5 separate regions of the Homo sapiens genome follow, and regions 2, 3, 4 and 5 are each linked to region 1. Evidence: promoter capture Hi-C in 16 types of primary human blood cells and fetal thymus (Javierre and others, 2016). All regions are on one chromosome and are shown on one strand. The core of a region is centred on a gene start or on the middle of the fragment in contact, and the rest is flanking DNA. Distances in the headings are between cores, read along the strand shown. Region 1 holds the start of MIR302CHG (miR-302/367 cluster host gene). Region 2 overlaps LOC105377370 (a long non-coding RNA gene). Region 3 overlaps LINC02945 (long intergenic non-protein coding RNA 2945). Region 4 overlaps LINC02945 (long intergenic non-protein coding RNA 2945). Region 5 overlaps LINC02945 (long intergenic non-protein coding RNA 2945).

The links. The method cuts DNA at HindIII sites, captures the fragments that hold promoters and counts their contacts. A CHiCAGO score of 5 or more calls a contact.
Region 2: a contact is called between a fragment that was not itself captured here and the fragment with the promoter of MIR302CHG in region 1, in 6 of 17 cell types (total B cells, naive CD8 T cells, naive B cells and 3 more). The highest score is 10.1, in total B cells.
Region 3: a fragment that was not itself captured here is called in contact with the fragment with the promoter of MIR302CHG in region 1 in 1 of 17 cell types (neutrophils); the score reaches 6.5 in neutrophils.
Region 4: a contact is called between a fragment that was not itself captured here and the fragment with the promoter of MIR302CHG in region 1, in 1 of 17 cell types (fetal thymus). The highest score is 5.1, in fetal thymus.
Region 5: a fragment that was not itself captured here is called in contact with the fragment with the promoter of MIR302CHG in region 1 in 8 of 17 cell types (neutrophils, naive B cells, naive CD8 T cells and 5 more); the score reaches 17.5 in neutrophils.

What each region holds. Positions count from the first base shown.
Region 1 is chr4:112,648,761-112,651,460 of GRCh38, forward strand. MIR302CHG (miR-302/367 cluster host gene) reads right to left here and starts at 1,291. Exons shown (of 3, transcript NR_146092.1): 1 at 1,232-1,291. LARP7 (La ribonucleoprotein 7, transcriptional regulator) reads left to right here. Exons shown (of 13, transcript NM_016648.4): 9 at 775-926; 10 at 1,701-1,822. RefSeq lists an enhancer at 111-833. The HindIII fragment of the contact is 6,288 bases long and covers 1-2,700 here.
Region 2 is chr4:112,122,371-112,125,153 of GRCh38, forward strand. All of the region lies in intron 2 of LOC105377370 (a long non-coding RNA gene), which reads right to left. Among named protein-coding and RNA genes, the nearest start is that of LINC02945, 11 kb to the left of the region's middle. The HindIII fragment of the contact is 820 bases long and covers 1,039-1,858 here.
Region 3 is chr4:112,048,465-112,051,164 of GRCh38, forward strand. All of the region lies in intron 1 of LINC02945 (long intergenic non-protein coding RNA 2945), which reads right to left. Among named protein-coding and RNA genes, the nearest start is that of LINC02945, 62 kb to the right of the region's middle. RefSeq lists a silencer at 851-930. The HindIII fragment of the contact is 8,584 bases long and covers 1-2,700 here.
Region 4 is chr4:112,085,923-112,088,622 of GRCh38, forward strand. All of the region lies in intron 1 of LINC02945 (long intergenic non-protein coding RNA 2945), which reads right to left. Among named protein-coding and RNA genes, the nearest start is that of LINC02945, 25 kb to the right of the region's middle. RefSeq lists an enhancer at 845-1,413. The HindIII fragment of the contact is 5,743 bases long and covers 1-2,700 here.
Region 5 is chr4:112,102,341-112,105,040 of GRCh38, forward strand. The region is part of intron 1 of LINC02945 (long intergenic non-protein coding RNA 2945); the gene reads right to left. Among named protein-coding and RNA genes, the nearest start is that of LINC02945, 8.6 kb to the right of the region's middle. The HindIII fragment of the contact is 889 bases long and covers 919-1,807 here.

The sequences.
Region 1 (2,700 bases), core at 41-2,540:
CTTTTTATCTCAGAGAATCATTACAAGGGCCTTTTGTTATTTTAATGTATCAGCTCTCAGGGAATGTATGATCCTGGGTGGGTCTGGATCCTTTTTTTTTTTTTTGAAGTATACAGATGTCAATGTTAACAGCTAAAACCATTACCACAAGATATCTTCCTCTTAAAAAAAAAAAAGAAAAAGAAAAAGAAAATCTCCTATCTGCTTGTTTGATGGCATAGATTAGGGTAACAATGAGTGCTCCCACTGAGCCGAGAAAGGCATTGTGTTTCTATCTGGAGGAACTCTGTTTGAAGAAGCATCTACATGTTAAATGTATGTAAATAAATAGATTGCTTCCACGGGGTGTTTTGTTCTACTTAGAAATTCTTTTTGATTCAAGTAAATACTAAGGAATGTTATCTCTCAAATTGGAAGCAGTTTAACAAATCTTTAATCTCGCCCTTTTCCCACAGAGATGACTGATTTAGTAAATGTTACTAGTTAAGGAATTAATGCTAAAATTTTACTTTTATAAATTAAAATACTTCAGACACTCAAAAATTTAATTGGCAATCTTAAAACATTTAATCTGAATATTGGGGGAAGAGGAACTCCCTTAGCTTATTTTGCTAAATGTCTTTAGAACCTAGGAAATATTTTGAATATGTGTTTAAAGAAACAGGAAAGTTGGTGGAGGAGTTGCTCCAAGTCATTGTGAATGTATATATTTAGATATTTCCCTATTTACTTTTTATATTTAGTCATCTGTTATCACCATTTCTTTCCTTGTAGGAGCGAATGGATGGATTTGAAAAAAGAGTATTTAGCGCTACAAAAAGCTAGCATGGCTTCTTTAAAAAAAACAATATCCCAAATAAAATCAGAGTCAGAAATGGAAACAGACAGTGGAGTACCTCAAAACACTGGAATGAAAAATGAAAAAAGTAAAGATCACTGATAGTTTTGACAACATTATAATGTACTTATATATGTAAATGCTATCTCTGAGTTGTTATAAGATAAATTTTAATTTTAAAAAACTTGATTATTCTATTTCATTATTAGAACAATTCTTGATTTGTTAAGTTATCCAGATGTGTTACTTACTCTTGATATAAGAATATTTAAAAGGCTCATTTAAAACAATTTTTTAAATAACCTGAGTTTTCTCTACAGTTTTCATCAAGCACATGAGTGCAGAGTTTGCAGACTGAGCAAGTTTGTAGGAATGAAGATTGTAGTTTCTCACCTGTTAATTTCATTCTGTAGTATGCACCACAAGCAGGAACAAGTTAAAGCAGAATTCCTATGAATTCAAAATTAGGATACATTTTAAATTCTCATTTCTTGTAAAAATAAATGTTCACGTTTGAATAATAATGTATTTAAAACACAGTATCCTTTAACTTTTTTTTAACTTTATTGAGTAAAAATTTACTGTTCCTTTGTTCAGGGAGAAGGGGCAAATTTAAAGGCTTTACGAATGCTCTTCTAGCAGTAACAATTTGCATGTAGAATAATAAAACTTTCTGAGTTTTATTCATGGTATTTTGAAATAAGCAGTATGACATATAACCTTTAATTGTTTACTTTAAAATTAAATACGTTTTAAATTATTTAAATCTGCCTCAGGAATTATTCTAAGGTAGTCCTCCTAAGTATTAAATTGTTGTTAAGTGTAAGAGATTTAGTCCTGGTCTTTTTCCTTTTCTAATCAGCAGCCAACAGGGAAGAGTGTCGCACCCAGGAGAAAGTTAATGCAACAGGACCACAGTTCGTGAGTGGAGTGATTGTGAAGATCATTAGCACAGAGCCTCTACCTGGCAGGAAACAAGTCCGGGTAATGATTTTGAGCCCCTAGGGTATTTGTTCCTTTCTTCTCTTATTATTTCCCTGTGTGAAAATGTTTTGAATATGGAAGATAAAACAAATCAAGTTAGAATTTGTTTCCCTATGGTAAACTACTGTACAGTTTTAATTCCATGGTAACTCTTAGGTTTAATTTTGAAGCAAAATCTAGAGGCTGAAATTCCTCACTAAATCTATATGTAAGCACAGTTTAAACATCCTTCTCTATAGGAAAATTGTAACTTTTGCTTATTTTTATTGGCACTGATTTTTTTTGTATTACCTATGTGCTGATTATCTTTAAAATTTTAATTATAGAAAAGTAAAATATTTTTGAAAACCTCTTAAAATTTTTCACGCATGTGCCAAAAAACCCATACTTCTATATAATTTACGCTACAAATTGCTGTACATACAGGTTTATAATTTTTTCGCTTTATACAGTCTATCTTCTGTAGCCTTTTATACCACATTGGTAGCAATACTTTCTATTAGGGAAATTATATACTTTTAGGTGAGAGTACCATATCTTATTTACCCTTACCCTGCCTGTCACCCATTTAAGTGAATCCTTTTCTTTTTAAAAAGTGTGAAATGCTCTGTAACATACCACATATTTTAAGTATTTTCTTATACTGACATTCATCATCACTTAGTATGTTGTTTTGGTTTTACGTAGACTCATCAGTCACAGGTTTTAACTTGAATACCATTGAGGTGGTGGTTTGTTTATCTGTAAGCCCTCCTTATCTGAAATACTGTCCTACAATCCTATAGCTGTCACTAAGAAACAAATTTTGATCCTCTTTGCAATGTTGGTGAAGGATTTGGCCAAATCCAAATTGCTATTACCAGCTTGCATTTCAGGAG
Region 2 (2,783 bases), core at 199-2,698, 530 kb before region 1:
TTCCCACCTCAACTTCCTTAATAACTGGGTCCACAGGTACACACCACCATGCCCAGCTAATTTATTTATTTATTTTTATTTTTATTTTTTATAGAGATGGAGTCTTGCTGTGTTGCCCAGGCTGGTCTTGAACTCCGGTGCTCAAGGGATCCTCCCACCTCAGCTTCCCAAAGTGCTGGGATTACAAGCAAGAGCCACTGTGCCTGGCCTTGAGATTTTTCAATAATTTGAATTGTTCCCAAATATAACAGATTGATTTGTGAGGTGGTGAACTCACGTCTGTAAAAAATGTCAAGCAGCATTTAGATGCCAACCTATCAGGGATGCTAGAGATACACACTTCCAACTGGAAGTGGCTTTTAAGATCCCAGATATTTTTTAAATTCTAGAATGTGTCTCAAATGAAATGCAATTTGTAAAATCCTAACTGGCGCTTCTCAAACTTTAGTGTGCATAAAATCACCTAGAAAACTGGTTAAAACACACATTCAGGGCCCCACCCCTCAGATATTCTGATTCATTAAGTCTGAGGTGAGCCCCAAAATTTGCTTTTCTAATAAGCTCGCAAATGATGCTGATTCTGTTGGTCCAGGAACTATGCTTTGAATAGCCCTGCAAATCGTAATTTTTTATTCGATATTTGTAAAGAGATGAAAGAAAATTAAAAGGCTTGGCAAGCAAAAAGAAATGAAAAGTAATGTGTACTCGGTGTTCATATAGGAAATAAAACAGTGTAATGACTACTTCGAAGGAAAAAAATTCTTCCAAAACGTAGGCCACATCTACCCAACAGTATGCAAACATTTGGAGAGGAAATTAATTGGTACATATGGCTGTAGGTGTTCATTTCTAACTAAACTAAACAGTCCATCAAAGCCTTTCTTTCAGACATTTAATTAAGTAATTCTGAGGAGATTATGTCATTTAAATATTTCTTGTCTGGGGGTCAGGGACCCACTTAGGTTCAGGTATCTCTTCTGCTCATCTCTAAATCCTTGTTTAGCAACTCCACCCAGACCATTAACAAAATCCAGGGTAAGCTTGTCAGTTAGGAGTAAAGGAGAGCTGTTTGGGACAAATAGTATAATTCAGTTTGTAAATGTCTTTACCCTTGAAGTGGAGATCTGGGCAATCATCTTAAAACGATAAGCTCCCTAATGGCAAGTTCAAAGGAAATCTTTATCCATCCCTCAAGGCTCATCTTAAATTGCACTCCCTCATTAATTCTTTCCTGATTCCATCAACAGACTGTAAGCACCAAATCCTTATCTCACTGGCAGATCTCTTAAGATATAACCTACTAATTCCGAACTGTAATGTTATTTGTTGTATTAGTGTGGATCCAATCACACAGTGGGTTACATAGAAGAAGTATAATATAAAGAATTATTAAACTCTGATAAATGAATATACAGAAAAAAGGACAGTAAAGGAAAACTATAAGGAACCCTAGGGCTGAATAAGAGTATCAAGGAAGAACAAAGTTGTAAGGGGGCCCCCTCCCCAGACCTGGGGTTCAGACCTCATTGGAGAAGGTATAGTTTAGCCTGATAACTGAAACAGAAAAGTTCACTGGTTTGCATTAGCCCGAGCTGGTCTGGGGTCACTAGGAGAGCAGGAAGCATCCCTCCAGAGTGCAGCCAGAGCTCAGCAGATCAGAAGCCAGATGCATGGTTATACACAGGTGGTGGGAATCCAGGGAGCAGGCAAGCCACAGAGCCCAAATAAAGAGTAATGTCTCAGGGGAAAACTCTCAGGCTGTTGACAATCCACATGCAGGCTTGCACAGGGAATTGGGGCATTCATGTGTTCAGGAAGACTTTGGGACACCAGTTTCCATGCCAAGGGGTCCATGGGAAGCTTATTGCCAGGATAGGCTGAAACTACAAGGTTACCTAGTGACTGCATATTCTAGGAATGTGGCCAAAACAGAGTTCCACCAAATGTCTTCAAACCCACTCCACCAACTTGCCATGAGCAGCCAGAAACAGCAGGAGACATCTTTCCAACAGCCTCTACTAAGAAAACTTAGCATTATGCTCACTGTAAGGAGGAGACACTTAAAAGAATTCTGCCTATTATCAAAGGGCATATATTGTGGAGTGAATCTGGAGCTGAGAGGCAATAAACTGATGGTTGACATGTATGTGTTATTACAAGATTGTTGATTCTTTTAGGATTAAAGACTGGATTTCATCTCTGTAGTCTCCGTGGTACCTAGGTCGTCTTATAACAAACTATTCCTCAGTAAATATTGAGAACTCCTGGCTTTTTTTTTTTCAGAAACTGATAAGCTGATCCTAAAATTTATATGGAAATGTAATGGACCCAACATAGCCAAAGCAACATTTGAAAAAACAAAGTTTGAGGACTTGCATTTTCTGACATCAAAACTTACTACAAAGCTACATTAATCAAGACAATATGGGACTGGCATAAGGGTAGAAATATAGATAAGTAGAAAAGAACGGAGATCCCAGGAATAAATCATTAAATTTATGGTTAATTGATTTTTTAACATAGGTGCCAAGACAGTTCAATGGAGGAGGAATATATTTTCAACAAATAATGCCAGAACAACTCTCTACCCATATGCAAAAGAATGAATTTGAACCCCTATATCATACCATACACAAAAATTCAGGCTAAATGGATCATATATCTAAATGGAAGAGTGAAAACTATAAAACTCTTAGAAGAAGAGATTGGAGTAAATCTTTATGACTTTACATTAGGCAGTGGTACCTTAGCTATAACATCAAAATTCAAAATCTTTGTGCCTT
Region 3 (2,700 bases), core at 44-2,543, 600 kb before region 1:
ACACAAGAATGACAAATATATCTTTGGAATAGAACAGAGATCCAAAAGACATTCATGTATGGACAGCTGATTTATAACAAAGACAGCACTGCTAAACAGCATGGAAAGGATGATCATTTCAACAACTGGTGCCAAGACAATTGGGTGCCCATGTGAAGAAAAAATAAAATTTGGCCTTTACCTCACACCATATACAAAAATATGAAAGGCAAATCACATAGCTTCTAAAAAACTATATTAGAAAATATATTTATGACCTTGCGGGAGGGGAAGACTTCTTAAACAAAACAGAAAAACCATGAAAGAAAGGGTTGATAAACCAGACTACATTAAACTTAGTCTACATGAAAGATCATGAAAGAAAGAGTTGGTATATTGAAAGAAAGAGTTGGTATAAAGAAAGAGTTGGTTAAAGTTCAAAACTTCCTTTTTTTAAAAAGACACCGTAAGAGTCTCAGGTCCACAACAAATCAATGGATCAATGAGACAAAGTCAATGCAATAGTCATGTGGGCAGCAGACTTAAAACAAGTGCTTCAGGCCGGGCACGGTGCCTCATGCCTGTAATCCCAGCATTTTAGGAGGCCGAGGCAGGTGGATCAATTGAGGTTGGGACTTCGCGACCAGCCTGACCAACATGGAGAAACCCCATCTCTACAAAAAATACAAAAGTAGCTGGGCCTGGTGGTGCATGCCTGTAATCCCAGCTACTCAGGAGGCTGAGGCAGGAAAATCACTTGAACCCAGGAGGCGGAGGTTGTGGTGAGCCGAGATCGTGCCACTGCACTGCAGCCTGGGCAACAAGAGTGCAACTCTGCCTCAAAAAAAAAAAAATGCTTCACAATAGAGGGTATCTAAATGACTGGAAAATATGAAAGGTGTTCAATGTCATTAGTAAAAGGGGAACAGAAATTGAAGCCATTGTGAGATACTACAGTAACCAATGAGAATGGCCAGAATGAAAAAGTCAAATACTATTAGTATTTGAAAGAATGTGGAACAGTGGGAACTCTTAACACTAATAACAGGAGTAATGTCAGTAGAAATAATATGAAAGACAATATAACTATCTTTTAAAATGGAAGATATGTATGCTTTTTGACCCACTATTTCCACTTATATAACTAACAATAATGTATGCACATGTGCTTCAAGAAACATGTTCAAGAATGTTTATGGCAACATTATTCATGATATCAAAAAACTGGAAACAGCACAAATGTCAACCAGTAAATGGAAAATGATAAATTACAGTATGTTCATACAATGAAATTCTCAAATTTTTTATTTTCTTTTTAGAGCGGGTTTTCGCCATGTTGCCTAGGCTTGTCTCAAACTCCTGAGCTCAAAGAATCCGCTCACCTGGGCCTCCCAAAGTGCTGAGATTACAGATGTGAGCCACCACCCCCGGCCACCTATGAGCCACCACGCCCAGCCAGGTCCAGCCTGGCCACCATGGTGAAACCCCATCTCTACAAAAAACACAAAAATTAGCCAGGCATGGAGGTGCATGCCTGTAATCCCAGCTACTCAGGAGGCTAAGGCTGGAGAATCACTTGAACCTGGGAGGTGGAGGTTGTAGTGAGCTGAGATCTCGACATTGCACTCCAGCCTGGGTGACAGAGTGAGACTCCATCACAAAAAAAAAAAAGCAAAGATATGACTACAATATTAGTCAGGATATTAGTTAACTTTAGGAGGCATACAGGGGGCAATGACTGAGAGGAAGTTTGGAAGGACACTTCTGAGAGGGTGATAATACTAAATCTTGACTTGAGTGAGTTCCATGGGTTTAGTTTGTAACAAATCATTAAGCTATATTTTTTTCTTCTTTTTGAGACGGAGTCTCACTCTGTCGCCCAGGCTGGAGTGCGGTGGCACGATCTCGGCTCACTGCAACCTCCGCATCCGGGGTTCAAGCAATTCTCTGCCTCAGCCTCCCAAGTAGCTGGGAATACAGGCATCTGCCACCATGCTGGCTAATTTTTTTGTGTTTTTAGTAGAGACGGGGTTTCACCATGTTGGCCAGGCTGGTCTTGAACTCCTGACCTCTTGATCCATCCACCTCGGCCTCCCAAAGTGCTGGGATTACAGGCGTGAGCCACTGTGCCCGGCCTCATTAAGCTATATTTTTGTTCTGTGGACTATTCTGTATGCATGTTATATTTTACAGTTTAAAAGTATTTTTAAATTACTTTCTACATTAGAATTGAAACTGAAATTCAAAATACATATGTATAGCTATTTGAGATTGCAATGATGTGCTTGAAATGAGGAAAAAATACTGACATTACAGGGTTAGCTTTGCAGAATACTTGCCAAACAATTGAGACAAGCAAGTAATAGTAATAATAGCAAATATCATAATAATAATGGCTAAGACTTACAGCACTTACTATGTGTCAGTCACTATTCCAAACCATTTACATACATTAACTCATTTATTCTTATAAGTCTTGTAAACATATAGAACAGAAATATCTTAATAGATATCCCTTCTTCTAATCTGAATCATAGAAGTGCTATTTGTGATGAAATACAAAGCACAAGAAAAACAGCTCTGAGTGTAATAGTCACCACTGCTCCAAGGGTGCAACCTTTCCTGAAGTCATGGGTCACAACAAACAAACAAAAACACCTGTCAAGGAGTTTATGCCAGTAAATCAAGAAGAGATTAGATATTTTAAGACAGATCAAGTGT
Region 4 (2,700 bases), core at 79-2,578, 560 kb before region 1:
TCCATGTGAGATGATCTTTACATTTCACAAAAGAGCTTTCTTCAGTATCGGGGGTGGGGCAGCGGCAGAGGTCTGCATCTTCTCCAAAATCCTATTTGCCTTTGATGCCCACATTGGGATCTGGAGTCTGGCAGGCTCTTGATTTCATCTCTGTTCCCTACTATAATTTTTCAAGTCTTATTTGTGGTCTATGGAAATGTTTGCCTTGTTTTGAGTTGGCCAGGTACTTCCACATATCTTCTTATAAAACTTGTCTAGCATTGCTGTTTGTTTGAAGCAGACAGGATGTGTCATAGCCTGAATTCATTGTGCTGTCCACTGATAACTCTTCCCTTCCTTGTACCTAGTGGCTTTCTCTCCTCCTCAAGCTCACTGACATGAGAGTCTTTCCCTTGAGTCCAAAGAAAGGAGGCATAGGCTGGGTAGATACCACAAAAAAAGTCTCTATGCAGCCTTAAGATAAATCCCTGGAGGTGGAATTTCTGTCTCAAGGATATGAACATTTTAAAGTTTTTGGTATATATTATAAAATTGCCCTCTTGGAGGAGGAGCCAAGATGGCCGAATAGGAACAGCTCCCGTCTACAGCTCCCAGCGTGAGCGACTCAGAAGACGGGTGATTTCTGCATTTCCATCTGAGGTACCGGGTTCATCTCACTAGGGAGTGCCAGACAGTGGGCGCAGGTCAGTGGGTGTGCGCACCGTGCGTGAGCCGAAGCAGGGCGAGGCATTGCCTCACTTGGGAAGTGCAATGGATCAGGGAGTTCCCTTTCCGAGTCAAAGAAAGGGGTGACGGACGCACCTGGAAAATCGGGTCACTCCCACCCGAATATTGCGCTTTTCGGACTGGCATAAAAAACGGCGCACCACGAGATTATATCCCGCACCTCGCTCGGAGGGTCCTACGCCCACGGAGTCCTCTCACTGATTGCTAGCACAGCAGTCTGAGATCAAACTGCAAGGCAGCAGCAAGGCTGGGGGGAGGGGTGCCCGCCATTGCCCAGGCTTCCTTAGGTAAACAAAGCAGCCTGGAAGCTCGAACTGGGTGGAGCCCACCACAGCTCAAGGAGGCCTGCCTGCCTCTGTAGGCTCCACCTCTGGGGGCAGGGCACAGACAAACAAAAAGACAGCAGTAACCTCTGCAGACTTAAATGTCCCTGTCTGACAGCTTTGAAGAGAGCAGTGGATCTCTCAGCATGCAGCTGGAGATCTGAGAATGGGGAGATTGCCTCCTCAAGTGGGTCCCTGACCCCTGACCCCCGAGCAGCCTAACTGGGAGGCACCCCTCAGCAGGGGCACACTGACACCTCACACGGCAGGGTATTCCGACAGACCTGCAGCTGAGGGTCCTGTCTGTTAGAAGGAAAACTAACAAACAGAAAGGACATCCACACCAAAAACCCATCTGTACATCACCATCATCAAAGACCAAAAGTAGATAAAACCACAAAGATGGGGAAAAAACAGAACAGAAAAACGGGAAACCCTAAAACGCATAGCGCTTCTCCTCCTCCAAAGGAATGCAGTTCCTCACCAGCAACAGAACAAAGCTGGATGGAGAATGACTTTGACGAGGTGAGAGAAGAAGGCTTCAGACGATCAAATTACTCTGAGCTACGGGAGGACATTCAAACCAAAGGCAAAAAAGTTGAAAACTTTGAAAAAAATTTAGAAGAATGTATAACTAGAATAACCAATACAGAGAAGTGCTTAAAGGAGCTGATGGAGCTGAAAACCAAGGCTCGAGAACTACGTGAAGAATGCAGAAGCCTCAGGAGCCGATGCGGTCAACTGGAAGAAAGGGTATCAGCAATGGAAGATGAAATGAATGAAATGAAGCGAGAAGGGAAGTTTAGAGAAAAAAGAATAAAAAGAAATGAGCAAAGCCTCCAAGAAATATGGGACTATGTGAAAAGACCAAATCTACGTCTGATTGGTGTACCTGAAAGTGATGGGGAGAATGGAACCAAGCTGGAAAACACTCTGCAGGATATTATCCAGGAGAACTTCCCCAATCTAGCAAGGCAGGCCAACGTTCAGATTCAGGAAATATGGAGAACGCCACAAAGATACTCCTTGAGAAGAGCAATTCCAAGACACATAATTGTCAGATTCACCAAAGTTGAAATGAAGGAAAAAGTGTTAAGGGCGGCCAGAGAGAAAGGTGAGTTACCCTCAAAGGGAAGCCCATCAGACTAACAGCAGATCTCTCAGCAGAAACCCTACAAGCCAGAAGAGAGTGGGGGCCAATATTCAACATTCTTAAAGAAAAGAATTTTCAACCCAGAATTTCATATCCAGTCAAACTAAGATTCATAAGTGAAGGAGAAATAAAATACTTTACAGACAAGCAAATGCTGAGAGATTTTGTCACCACCAGGCCTGCCCTAAAAGAGCTCCTGAAGGAAGCGCTAAACATGGAAAGGAACAACCGGTACCAGCCACTGCAAAATCATGCCAAAATGTAAAGACCATCCAGACTAGGAAGAAACTGCATCAACTAACGAGCAAAATCACCAGCTAACATCATCATGACAGGATCAAATTCACACATAACAATATTAACTTTAAATGTAAATGGACTAAATGCTCCAATTAAAAGACACAGACTGGCAAATTGGATAAAGAGTCAAGACCCATCAGTGTGCTGTATTCAGGAAACCCATCTCACGTGTAGAGACACATATAGGCTCAAAATAAA
Region 5 (2,700 bases), core at 113-2,612, 550 kb before region 1:
TTTATTCAAATTGTAATGGCAAAATTTGCCTTTTTAAAAACTCTGATTTTCTTTCAATGTTCATACTTTATAAAGATAAGGTGGGGGGATGTTCATTTACCTAGTTGATTTACACCATAATGTCTATTTTTGCCAAAGAGTTTGTTTCCCCTCTTTACCCCATGAGAGATGGAGAAGGAGTCGGGTAGGTTGGGGATAGGATGTTCAATGAGCACTTTGCACAGGGAAGACAAGCAATATAGAATTTTTATGGACCTCCAAACAATCCTGACCTTTGGCAGTTCCACTCTGACATGAATAAGTGTAAGGCAAGTCATATAGCATTTAACATTTGCCTTCCATTCTATCTATCAAGTTTGCACTACATCCACCATGAAGAGTGAATTCCCTGATGGGCAGCCATTAAGAGAGGCAGTAGAGAGTTTAGAATCAAATTGCCTGGGTTCAGATCTGGTCACTGCTACTTAATGGCTATATAATCTTAGGCAAGTGAGTTAGCTTCTCTAAGCCTCAGTGTCATTATCCATAAAATGGAGATAATGACAACATCTACATTATAAATAATAATGAGGATTAAATGAGATAATCCATAAATAAGCTCATAGCACTTGGCACAGAATAAAAGTTCTAAATTAGGTATTGGCCGTATTATTTGCTATTCCAAGAAACAGCACTCAGAACACGTCTGTTAAGGATGGCTGAGGCTCTGTGTGTCACTCAGAAAAGAGCTGGGGGCAGAGGAGCAACCCCAAGGCCTCTGCCAAAAGCAACTTGAAAGTTAAACTCGTGTTTTTGTCCAATGGCATTGAACAAGAAATAAAAGGTCAACCGCCATTTCCTCTGGAATCTGGCTTGTGATGTGACATCCGGGAATTGGCCCAATTCGTGGGTAGAGACAAACAAATCTTCCTCCCTACAAGCTTACATACCTACCTTTATTCTAACCTTCATCTCTACATAATCCCCATTCCTCAAAAGTTTATAAAATAATTGCCTTGTGCAAATTAGCATTGTTCAAGTGCAATCCTAAATAACACTGACGCATATTTCTATTTCTGCTATTGGTTTTTGTGACAATGATAAAGACATGCTATTTCCTGAAACAATAAGTGACCCTTTGATTTTAAAATTTGGCCTTTTTTTTTTTCCTTTTACAGACCACTTCTTATTTCATAGTGCATTACTATATTATTATTTACAAAACATTCTTTTGTAAATAATACAAAATTATTCTGGAGTGCAGCAGCGCGATCTCGGCTCACTGCAAGCTCCGCCTCCCGGGTTCATGCCATTCTCCTGCCTCAGCCTCCCAAGTAGCTGGGACTACAGGCGCCCGCCACCACGCTCGGCTAATTTTTTTTTTTTTTTTTTTTTTTGGTATTTTTAGTAGAGACAGGGTTTCACGTGTGAGCCAGGATGGTGTCGATCTCCTGACCTCATGATCCGCCCGCCTCGGCCTCCGAAAGTGCTGGGATTACAGGTGTGAGCCACCGTGCCCGGCCTACAAAACATTCTTAATCAATATTTGTTTGATTCAAAATCCTGTGAAGAATAAATTTAAGGCTCCCATAATTTCAGTCCTACATGTATTCCACTGTACATAATTTGTTTCAAACAAAATGGAAAAATCCCCATCCCCACAAGCTCGTCACTCTTTCTAAGTGAGAATGGGTCATTTCTTCTGTATCCTTAAACAGTTCAGAGACGAAAAATCAAGGAGCATAGGAAATGAAGCCTGTCGCACAATTAGGATCCAGTTCATACTCACTGGGACTACTTGGAGAATTTTCTGAAATCCCTTGTCTCAAGCTTCACTTCTATCCCTTCATTTCTGCTGCACACCACCTAAATTGAAGTTGCCTAGATATTCATTCTGTAAATTATTCATTCTCTCTCTCTCTCAGTATGAGTAGCCTGGCAATGCCAGACAAAAAGAAAAAAAAAGTCTTCAGAAATACTATGAATGTTTTAGTACAACCAAGCAAGCACTTTGATTTATTCATTGATTCAAAAAAGATTAATTAAGTAACCTCTATCTTTCAGGCATTGTGCTAGATATTGCTTATATAGTGATTAATAGGACAGAAGTAGTCCTACTCTTGTGAGGCTTACCACTTAGTGAAAGAATAAGACATGAGAAAAACAAACACACACACACACACATATATAATTACAGATTGCAGTGATAAAAAAAGAAAAGAGGGACATCTATGATTATAACAAGGAAGCACCCAATTCATGCTGTGGGATCAGAGACAACTTCTCTAAAATAGGATATGCAATTTAAGGCCTAAGGGATGTACAGGAGTTAGCTAGGTGAAGATTTGGGGGAAGTTATTCTAAGCAGAACATATGCAGTGTTCCTAGAACAACAAAGAGCTTGGCGCATTAAGAAATTGAGAAAGTCCAATGTGGTGGAGCTTAGTGAGCAGTGGGGGGAAGATCATCTAAGATGGACTCAGCATCATATAACTTCTCTGGAGTTTTGTTAAAAATCCAGAATGTCTAACTCAAAAAAGCATTTTGCAATATATTATAATTTACAATGGAAATTTGAATTTCAAGTTCCAAGCAAAATTATACAAATAAGCATCTTCTTGGCATCAACCTGGCATCTTCCACAGTCTCCCACATACCACTCCCCTACACCCTGTCCCTGCTAAATAATGGGTACGTCTTTTAATGAAATTTTTCAAGTGG